Regions from separate parts of the Homo sapiens genome. Here region 2 is linked to region 1. The links are contacts of gene promoters, found by promoter capture Hi-C in blood cells and fetal thymus (Javierre and others, 2016). All regions are on one chromosome and are shown on one strand. Each heading gives the region's core, a stretch centred on a gene start or on the middle of the fragment in contact. The rest is flanking DNA. Distances are from core to core; before and after follow the strand shown.

Evidence for each region. The method cuts DNA at HindIII sites, captures the fragments that hold promoters and counts their contacts. A CHiCAGO score of 5 or more calls a contact.
Region 2: a fragment that was not itself captured here is called in contact with the fragment with the promoter of LAMP2 in region 1 in 1 of 17 cell types (fetal thymus); the score reaches 5.1 in fetal thymus.

What each region holds. Positions count from the first base shown.
Region 1 is chrX:120,466,852-120,472,559 of GRCh38, forward strand. LAMP2 (lysosomal associated membrane protein 2) reads right to left here and starts at 2,445. Exons shown (of 9, transcript NM_002294.3): 1 at 2,255-2,445. The coding sequence starts at 2,318. RefSeq lists a silencer at 2,383-2,647. The HindIII fragment of the contact is 7,034 bases long and covers 1-5,708 here.
Region 2 is chrX:120,733,706-120,739,413 of GRCh38, forward strand. It overlaps the pseudogene GLRX5P1. Among named protein-coding and RNA genes, the nearest start is that of C1GALT1C1, 110 kb to the left of the region's middle. RefSeq lists an enhancer at 2,782-3,981. The HindIII fragment of the contact is 182 bases long and covers 3,428-3,609 here.

The DNA.
Region 1 (5,708 bases), core at 1,195-3,694:
TTTTTTTTGAGACAGAGTTTCGCTCATGTTGCCCAGGCTGGAATGCAGTGGCGCAATCTTGGCTCACCGCAACCTCCGCCTCCTGGGTTCAAGCGATTCTCCTGCCTCGGCCTCCCAAGTAGCTGGGATTACAGGCATGTGCCACGACACCGGCTAATTTTTCTATTTTTAGTAGAGACTGGGTTTCACCATGTTGGTCAGGCTGGTCTTGAACTCCTGATCTCAGGTGATCCGCCCGCCTCAGCCTCCCAAAGTGCTGGGATTACAGGCGTGAGCCACTGTGCCCAGCAGAAAAGGACAAATACCTTCTTAACCTTATTCCGAAGTTTTGATTTCACAGACGCATGAAAAGGTCCTCGAGAGTCACTGAATTAGATAATCAAGAACCCTTCCAATACTATGGTTTTCGAGCAGGATTTATCAATGTTGGCACCATTGACATTTTCAGGGAGATGATTCTTTGTTGTCAGGGGCTGCCCTGTGCTTAGTTAGGATGTTTAGCAGCATCCTTGGCCTCTACCCACTAGATGCTAAAAGCAATCCCCCAGTTGTTACAACCAAAAATGTCTCCAGATGTTGCCAAATGTCCCCTGGTTGAGAATCACTATTCCAGGGTGTTGATTTCATTCTACTGAAATGTGAATTACAAAATGTATACCTCTCACTGCTTTCTCAGACCCCTAATATGTCTATTTCTTCCCCACTCCCATCTGGGTCTGTTCTTTATGTTATTTTATTAAGTCACAAATAGCAAGAGCAGGTGGGTAGCAACAAGCACAGCATGAATCAAAGTCAGGAAGAGACACTTTAGTCAAAGTTCACTTTTAGGCATTAAAGTTGTTAGCGACCCACTGCCTATTAGGGCACAACACAATCAGCGAACATTCACCCAGCCATTTATTTATTGATTTATTTATTTTTATTTTTTGAGACAGAGTTTCACTCTTGTCGCCCAGGCTGGAGTGCAATGGCGCAATCTTGGCTCACTGCAACCTCCGCCTTCTGGGTTCAAGCGATTCTCCTGCCTCAGCCGCCCAAGCAGCTGGGATTACAGGCATGTGCCACGACGCCCGGCTAATTTTTGTATTTTTAGTAGAGACGGGGTTTCACCATGTTGGCCAGGCTGGTCTTGAATTCCTGACCTCAGGTGATACACCCACCTCGGCCTCCCAAAGTGCTGGGATTACAGGCATGAGCCACCACGCCCGGCCCCATCCAGCCATTCTTAGGCCCTGGTAACAACCCAATCCTTAGCAAGTTTGTCTACCTGCTCCCTGCACCCCCAAAATATGAGGTAATAGGCTAGCTGTGTGATGGGGAAGAAAGAAAAGAAGAAACTCTGAAGGCAAAGAGGTAGTCTACCAAACTCAAATACTCCACCCCCAAAACCTCACATCTGGGAGGCCCTCCTAACTGAAACGTCTGGGGATTTTTTTGTCAGCGTCTGGCTGGGAGGAAGTAGCAAAACTGGGAGAAAATCGACATCCTCAATACCTCCAAGTCAGATGTGCACTCCCCATCAAAGTTCCCCCTGAACCCCTTAGTCTCCAGAGGTTGGGTCCAAGTTTTCTTTCCTGGAAATTGCCCCAGCTACCTTAGGTTCCTTCGCCCTTAAAACTATGACTACCAAACTCAAACCCAGCATCACTCCTAATCTCTTGAATCATCCTTTCTTCACAGTCTCAAATTCCAACCTTCAAAATGCCCAACCCTGTCACTGCCCCTGCCCCTCAGGCTCTACTGTCCTATCTGTCCCATCTGTCCCCCACCCACACACTTCTCCCAAGCTACTCCAGGCAGGCATGGTCTTCTCTCTTAATTTCCTATCTCACCCCATAGTTTTTCCACCATCTTCAAAACTCTTCCCTGATCTCAGCAAACCAAGACTCTCCTAATTGTCTCTGGCGCCCAAAATCTGCATGTACCACCCTCCTACGCTCACTCCTCAGTGTTTTCCCCAAGTTACTCTTTCCACGCTGACCCTCTCCACGCTTCACTCCTCCCAGCCTACTCCCTCGGCGTCCACCCCCCGTTACCGGCCCCTTCTTACTCTCCTGGGCCCTTCTTCCCCGCCATCCGTCGGTCAGGCCTTCTCTAGGTCACCGCTTGCCTCCCCGGGCCAACCGCCGCCGCCCAGTGTTAGCTGCTGAGCCTCTCAACCCCCTCCCCCTCGGACCAGTCTTTCAGGTTGTAGCTTTGAACTGGTGCCCCGGGCCCAGGCGGACAGACTAATCGGGAGGGCCCGACAACTCACCCAGGACTAGGCAGACCAGAACGAGCCCTGAGCCCGGAACCGGGAAGAGGCGGAAGCACACCATGACCCCGCAGAGCAGGCGGCGACGGCGGCGACGGCGGCGGTACAACAACAGCTGCAACACCAGGGAAAAGGCTCGCTGGACCTGGGTCAAGAGCACTGATGACCACCGACCACAGCCTTGCAAAAGCCAGGAATCGGCGCTTCAGTGCGAGTCATAAGACTAGGGGCGGGGCTCTTTCTTGCTTACAGCCAATCTCCGCGCTTGAAAGCGGCGAGAGGGGTGGTGATGTAGCGGCCGGTGGGCGGGGCGACCACGCCCTGGCTTTTTGGTTCACAGCCCTTCCTATGCTCCTGAGAGATATGCGCGGACGGCATTTTCTTTTTCTTTTTCTTTCTTTTTTTTTTTTTTTTTTAATTTTACTTTAAGTTCTGGGATACATGTGCAGAATGTGCAGCTTTGTTACATAGGTATACATGTGCCATGGTGGTTTACTGCACCTATCAACCCGTCATCTAGGTTTTAAGCCCCACATGCATTAGGTATTTCTCCTAATGCTCTCCCTCCCCTTGGCCCCCACCCCTTGACAGGCCCCCGTGTGTGTTGTTCCCCTCCCTGTGTCCATGTGTTCTCATTGTTCAACTCCCACTTATGAGTGAGAACATGCAGTGTTTTGTTTTCTGTTCCTGTGTTAGTTTGCTAAGGATGATGGCTTCCAGCTTCATCCATGTCCCTGCAAAGGACATGATCTCATTTTTTTATGGCTGCATAGTATTCCATGGCATATATGTGCCACGTTTTCTTTATCTAGTCTATCATTGATGGGCATTTGGGTTGGTTCCAAGTCTTTGCTATTGTAAATAGTGCTGCAATAAACATACGTGTGCATGCGTCAAATGGTATTTCTGGTTCTAGATTTTTGAGGAATCGCCACACTGTCTGCCACAATAGTTGAACTAATTTACACTCCCACCAACAGTGTAAAAGCATTCCTATTTTTCCTCAGCCTCGCCAGCATCTATTGTTTCCTGATTTTTTAATAATCACCATTCTGACTGGCGTGAGATGGTATCTCATTGTGGTTTTGATTTGCCTTTCTCTAATGATCAGTGATAATGAGCTTTTTTTCATGTTTGTTGCTGCATAAATGTCTTTTTTTGAGAAGTGTCTGGTCATATCCTTTGCCCACTTTTTGATGGGGTTGTTTTTTTCTTGTAAATTTGTTTAAGGTCCTTGTAGATTCTGGATATTAGACCTTTGTCAGATGGGTAGATTGCAAAAATTTTCTCCCATTCTGCAGGTTGCCTGTTCACGCTAATGCTAATTTCTTTTGCTGTGCAGAAGTTCTTTTAATTAGATCCCATTTGTCAATTTTGACTTTTGTTGCGATTGCTTTTGGTGTTTTAGCCATGAGGTCTTTGCCCATGCCTATGGCGGACGGTATTTTCTAAGGCTAAGGAGAGAGGAGGAACTTTTGAGGGCCGTAGATAGTAGACTATTTCCGTTTTGGCTCCTTGACAAAGAAGAGAAAAATTTTGCGGGCACAAAAACGGTTGCTAGGCATCTCAAACGTAATACATACAAAAATAATACATGCTTATTCTCCAAACACTGTTGTTACCTATGCAGTTCATGCTGTGAGATGGACGAGGGAACCTAGGGGGTAGTATGGAGTCACGGACCATCGGAACAAGACATGATCTTGAAATTCACCTAGTTACAGCACCCTGTTCTCAGGTGGGGGAATTGAGCTCAGAAACAAGAAGCATCTTTTTTAAACACAGGAAGAAAAAAATGAGAGAAATAAAACAGAAGGATAAAGCGGAAAAATAGAGATCATCTGTATTCCTACTATTAACATTATTATATATATTTACACACATATATACACACACCCACATCTATACTTCCAGATATTTTTCCTATGTACATACACACAAATATTCTGTAATGAGTTCATACTAAGCATACTGTTTGCTATACTTGATAGATGAACAGACAAAACCTAAAATATTCAACAGATGAAAGCATTTAAAAATCTTGAGTTGGAATAAAGCACTGATTCTCAAGTGTTAGTTTCCAAAAGAACCATCTGGTTTTGGGTTTTTTTTTTTTAACATACAGATTCCTGTACCTCATTCCCCAGAGATTCTGAAACAGTAGGTCTGTGGCAGTCTTATTAATCACTTCTTTAACAAACACCCCAAGTGATTCTGATTCTGTGGTCCATGGACCACACTTTGAGAAAAACACTGAAAGAGAGCTTCAAAATCATCTAGTCCAGGAGATTTTAATCTGGAGTTTATGTATGAGTTTAGACAGGATGGGAGAGGTGTCGGTGAATCCTCAGAAATTACATGCAACATTTATGTATGTGTATTTTTGTGGGGAAGTTTGTAGTTTTCACTAGTTCTCCAATGGGACCTGTGACTCCTTGCCCTAACCCCTACCCTAATTCAAATATTAAGAAGCACCGATCTGCCCCACTATTGTTTGCTTTAATGTAATTAATTCCTGAAAGTGAGAACATTTGTCAATGAATGTTTACTACCATAGGTGAAACTAATTTGTGAACAAGTGACCCAACACAAGACTAATGAACACTGCATACAGTGTTAGTCATTGCCTTTAGCAAAATGTCTTTTGACTGCCATCAATGAGACTTGGCAGGAGCTATGTCCTGGGCATAGTAGTCTTCAGAGAACCCACAACTGAGTTGAGCCCTCTGAAGATGCCCCACCAATACTTCCTGGACTCTAGCTCTTCTCTTTCAATTGTAAATCGCATAACTTTAATGTTCAGTAAAACCCTAAGCTCTTTCTATAAGAAGAAACAAAAAAAGAACATAGTGGAAAGAACATTGGGTTAGCAGTCAGAGGAGTTGGTTGTGAGACACCACTTACTGGCAGTGTGATCTTAGGCAGGTCACTTCATCTGTTTGAACTTCTATATCTTTATTGGTAAAATGAAATAATGAGACTAGAGCTGTTTCTTGATCCTGGCTGCATGTTGGAATCACTTGTGGAGCTTTAAAAGTGGAAAATTCCCCTTGGTCCCATCCCTTGAGATTCTGATTCAGTTTATCTGAAGTCAGGCCTGGGCATGGTGTTTTTCTCAAAACTCCCCAAAACAATATTGGTGGGCCTCAGATGATCTCTAAGTTGGCATCAGGTTTATAATTCAAGGATTCTATGTGAGTAAATGCTCATTTATTTAAAATTGGCCAGGTGCAGTGGCTCAAACCTGTAATCCCAACACTTTGGGAAGCCAAAGCAGGCAGATTGCCTGAGCTCAGGAGTTTGAGACCAGTCTGACCAACATGGTGAAACCCCATCTCTACAAAAAATTAAAAATTAGCTGGGGGTGGTGGCGTGCACCTGTAGTCCCAGCTACTTGGGGGCTGAGGCAAGAGGATTGTTCAAGTCCAGGAGGTGGAGGCTGCAGTGAGCCATG
Region 2 (5,708 bases), core at 2,269-4,768, 270 kb after region 1:
ATTATTCATGACCCCTCTGCAAATATGTCAGTCTGCAAAGACAATATCTTCCCCCAAATTATGTATAGCTTCTTCCGTTATGGAAAACGATGGACAAAGAAGAAACTGTGATAACTGGGTTTTTTTTTTTTTTTAAATAAACTGCCAACACAGGAAGAAAGTTATGTAAAAGCTTTGATGACTTCGTGCTACAATTTGATACATTTTATTATAAAGAGCATGCTGGAGACTGGGGCAAATGGATGGCAGGTCTAATAAAATCAAATTTTCAGACATTTATCTTCTTACTTCATATTTGCATTTTCGACTGCTTATATGATATTGTCACACACACACAGGCTTATTTTTATTGTTACTTTAATATTCGACAAACCTTTTTTCCTTAGTAAAGTTTATTTTTCCAACATAAAAGTAATATAAAACTTGGAAAATACAGCAAAATAAAAAGAGGAAAAATCAACATAATTTTACTGCCCCAAAAATCCCATTGACTTTTTTTTTTTTTTTTTTCCTTGAGACGGAGTCTCGCTCTGTCGCCCAGGCTGGAGTGCAGTGGCGCTGTCTCGGCTCACTGCAAGCTCCGCCTCCCGGGTTCACGCCATTCTCCTGCCTCAGTCTCCTGAGTAGCTGGGACTACAGGCGCCCGCCACCACGCCCGGCTAATTTTTTTTCGTATTTTTAGTAGAGATGGGGTTTCACCGTGTTAGCCGGGATGGTCTCGATCTGCTGACCTTGTGATCCGCCCATCTCGGCCTCCCAAAGTGCTGGGATTACAGGCGTGAGCCACCGCGCCAGGCCCTGATAGAGATTTTGTTCATTTTTTTAAATTTGTTTGCTTTGTTGATAGCTTGAGAGACCTTCACATTTCCATGTACCTGAGTCATCAAAATTTCTAAATCTGGTGGGTTCTTCACCCTAGAGTCCCAAGAGTGCCATAAGATACATCCTGGCATGGCAGTGGCCAGAGGGGCTGGTCTGGAAAGGGTGACAGAGGCCCTGATGTCTCAGGGAAAAGCACTCAGCATGAACCAGTAATCTGCACAAGGGTCGACCTAGTCCAGAAAGAACTTTTCCTGGGCTCGGTTCCCACCCTGGTGGTCACATCGCCGTGACTCAGCAGGAAGAGGCCTCCCCAGAGCCCAGGTCTCTCACAGTTAAGTGTTGTCAGAGGCTGCCGCGTGGGCCAGCAGTCCATCTCATTGGGTTAGCAGCAGCATTCCAACCCACAGGATTTGTTCACAGGCTGGAATGCTGGCCTCAGGGCTGGGCAGTGGCACTTCCTCCACTTGGTCCTGATGCTTGCAGTGATACCCTGTGGTGGTGCCATAAATCAGCTCTGCTCTGTGCTTTCCCAGAGAGATTTCCAAATGAATTGCCCTCCAAGCAGGCAGCGTGAGATACCTCCTTTCAGATGTCATGAACTAGATGGAATTTTGTTTTTACTAGAGGGGGGTAAATAGCAATGCCAGGCTATGATGTTGGAGTCTATTCAGTTTGCCTCACTTGACCCACATGTCAGTTATGAGCTAAACCTCACAGGCTGTCTCCTCAGGGTTAGTGGTTATTTTTCCTCAGCTAGAGGGAAGAACAAAGGAATGGAGCCCAGATGCACCAGAATGGGGACCTGGTGGAAGAACTGAAAAAGCTGGGGATCCGCTCCACCCTTTTAGATGAAAAGTAAGACCAAGACTCAAAGTGAGGGTGCCCGGGTCCTCCCTGAACAGAGGGAGCTGTTCGTGTCAGAGACTCACTGCCAGAAACTGTCACAGCAGCTGCAGGTTTGCACACCCAGTGCTTGACATTAGGCAAACCCCCTCATTTCTCGGGGTCCTCGACCTCCTCAAAAGTTTTTTCTTTTTTTTTTTTTTTTTTGAGACAGAGTCTTTCTCTGTTACCCAGGCTGGAGTGCAGTAGCATGATCTCGGCTCACTGCAACATCTGCCTCCTGGGTTCAAGTGATTCTCTTGCCTCAGCCTCCTGAGTAGATGGGATTACAGGCATGTGCCACCACGCTTGGCTAATTTTTGTATTTTTAGTAGAGATGGGGTTTTACCATGTTGGTCAGGCTGGTCTCAAACTCCTAACCTCAGGCAATCCACCCACCTCGGCCTCCCAAAGTGCTGGAATTACAGGCGTGAGCCACCGCACCCAGCCGGAAGTTTATTCTCTTAACTGGAGCTCAAGACTTCAAGACCAGTCTGGGCAATATGGCTAAACCTGGTCTCCACAAAAAAATACCAAAGGTATCCAGGTGTGGTGGTGAATGCCTGTAGTCCCAGCTACTTGGGAGGCTGAGGTGGGAGGATTGCTTGAGCCTGGGAGGTGGAGGTTGCAGTGAGCCAGGATCGCACCACTGCACTCCAGCTTGGGTGACACAGCAAGATCATGTCTCAAAAAAAAAATACATAAGGATGGTTAAGAATGTAATTTGACAAAAAGAATGTAATGTGATTGCTGTAAAAAATCATAATTAGCCTTACATCTCAAATATGTGGAAGGTATGTAAAGAAATAATATTATTGCTTTTTCCTCTGTCACTGGCTAGGTTTCTGGGAATGATCAGTGGCCCTGGATCACCCAGAGTCCATGCACCACACTTTGAGAAACAGTGCGTAAGGGAAAAGTATATGCTATGCTTTAAACACATTTATTAATACATTAAGTTTGATTCTATTTAAATTGGTTGAACTTTATTATACTTGATCATGAAGTTTCTATCATGGGTAAAAAATTATGACAAAATAGATGCTTTTTACTGATAGTTTGGCATCTTCCTTAATAATAGACCTGTAGCCAGGGTGAGGATGTCCAGCTAGGTACTTACGTACATTTTCCAGCCCGCTTTGTGGTCTGGTGTGGCTCTGAGACCAGTGAAATGTAAGTAGGAGTGATGTGTGCTTTTTCTAGGCCCAGCTCTTTAAACTTTGCACATGTGCTTCTCTTTACTTTTTTCCTCTAACAGAAGAAATATGGATGTGCCCATAGCACACATTACTCAGCTTTGAAACTGGCAGATAAGGCTGTTGCCTTACAGAAGGGCAGAGAAACATGAAGGAATCAACCCAAGTCCATGAGTGACTGAATGAGTTGAGTAGGCCACCTATGTGCTCTGGACTGTCAAGTGGAGAGAAACTTGACAAGTGGTGAGTTCTTTGACTCCCTGTACTATTGGGTTTTTATATTATAGAGGCTTAGCCCTTTAAGCCTGATAAAGCCAGGGAAACTTGGAGGTCTGAAAGCTCCGATTGGTAGCTTGTGGGGAAGAGTGGCTCTTGGTGGCACAGGACAGGTGGGAAGGAAAAGGGAGTCAGGATTTGGCACAAGACTACCAACCATGGTAGGTGGGTATGGCAAGTGCGTGTCCAGTTGATTTCTAAGGATGATTTTGGTGGTACTGCCAGGTAGGGGAGATAAGAAATAAGGAATAAGCTTGGTTGTGAGTCATACAGAAGTGTAGTTTTCTTATGAGAAAGAATAACTGAGTCAGGGGAAATGGTACCACTTAGTCATCCAGTTTAGGATTAGAGAGAAATGAAATCAAGGGAGCCACATCAGGCATAGGTCATCTCTGGGTCACCTCATGCAGGATCCAGGGAAGTGACACTTCTAAGCTTCCTGAAGGGTCCCTGGGGCTCTTGCTACTTTTCCTACTTTAGTCATGATTAGCATAAAAACTGTGGTGGAACTGTGGTGGCTTCATTAGTGGCTTCAGCTGTAAAGACTTGAAGCTGGAACAAATCAGAGATAAATCTTATTTACCTCACTTATTTACCTTTCATCTACATATGATTTAGTGCCTCAGCCACTGCTAGGGTACCTTTCTGTAAACTGGAAAAAGTGCTCCTTTTTGGGTTGGGGGCATGGCCTAGCAAGCACATGTATCAAACTAGGAAAGGAAAGCATTACTTGGTGAGTACAGTGCAGTATGGATTTCAGCCCCCATTCACCTCCATGACTGGGTATCCTTTGTGCAGTGAACAACATGCACAACTGTACATGGTGGCCTTGCAGACTACCAGAGGCACAGTGAGCATGAAGAGTGAAGTTGGAGAGTAAAGAAACAATTCAAATGTAACCTGCTGGCCAGAGGTACTTATAGGAAAGGCAAAAGAGAAGCAAAAGGTGAAGGGTGATTTAAGAACAGTTTTAAACTTAATATCTGAAGGGCCATCCCCAAATAGACAATATACTTTCTTGTATCTTTACCTTTGCTCATGCTGTTCCTCATCTGAAGTATCCTCTCTGGTTATATGATTCCTACACATACTCCAAAGCTTACTTCTAGACTTAACCTTTCCAAAAAGCCTTCCGTGAACTCTGTAGCTTACAAAGATCCCTCCCTCCCTCTTTACACTAAACTCTGACCATACTGCACTTAAGTTTCTGCCTTACATCATGCTCAGTGATTAGCTGGCCTGCTTTCCTTTTTGGCTGATTACTTCGTTTCTGAAACCATCTCTTGTGCCCCCCCCCCCAATAGCTATGGGAGTTTATTGAACTTAGTATTTATACATCAGTCTCTCCTCAGTGGATTCTAAGCTCTGTCAAGGCAGGGACTGTGGGTTTTAAAAAAATTTCTATCCCCAGCCAGCACAGGGCTCAACAAGTGTTTGTTGAATAAACAAATGGGCAATCCATGCTCAAAAAGATGTCTATTTGTTTGAGTGACCGAGAGCCTGGAAAATTTCTTCTCCAGTCCCAAACTATGTTTTTATTCAGGGAACCTCCGCTAAGCTCCCCACAGCAGGGTATGGGGACCACTTGTGACCAATTAACTTAAAATCTTTCCCCTGTTCAGACACTATTTTAACAAATCCTTGCAGTAGAAAGAGCACTGTGCTCATTGGGTGGTTCTAGTTCAGTTCTGATACTAACTAGCCATGTGACTTTGAGCAAATTGAAATCACCTGCCTGGCCAGCCTTAGTTTCCTATACTGTAAAATGAAAAAGTAGCTTTAATAGTCTGCAATGTTGTAAAGCAACATGATAAACAATGTGGTAATTGAGCTGAACTGTGAAAATATATTCATATCCATGGTAATACCTAACTCCTATCCTAGCTCAGCTTGAAGCAATTTTTCTTCGGCAGTGAAACATTCATAAGATGTTTTATGCGCCCCATGACCAATAAACAGCTGTAGGAAACTTGGGGAAAATATAACTCTCCCTCTTGGCCTGTATAATTTTACTGTTGTTGTTGTTGTTAATGGGCAGCCACCACTTCTTCTCTCTCCTTCATGGGGCTTATTTGTTCATTCTATTTAGGGTTGGCAGGTTCATCAAATAAAAGTGCAATATGATTCCTTCATATTTGTTCAGCACTTCACAGGTTATGAGGAAGCAGGTTAATGTATTAGAATGCAGAATGGCAGAAATAGCCTTGCTATCTAAAGTGTGTCCCCCCAACTGATAGCATTAGCATTACCTTGGAGCTTCTTAGAAATTCAAACTCTGAATCCCACCCCAAACCTACTGAGTCAGAATCTGCATTTTAACAAGACCTGCAGGTGATCATGTGTACACTAAAATTTGAGAAGCCCTGGGCTAGTTCTAACTGCCTCCTCCATTTGCTCAACAGCTGTCCCTAAACTCTGGAGTAGGAAAAAGGGAGTAGAGTTGCCCAAAATATGAACTCTTCAATTGGCTCCTTCCTATATTGTAGGGACTATCACACATGTGGTGGTCTTACAGGGCAGTGCATAATAAAC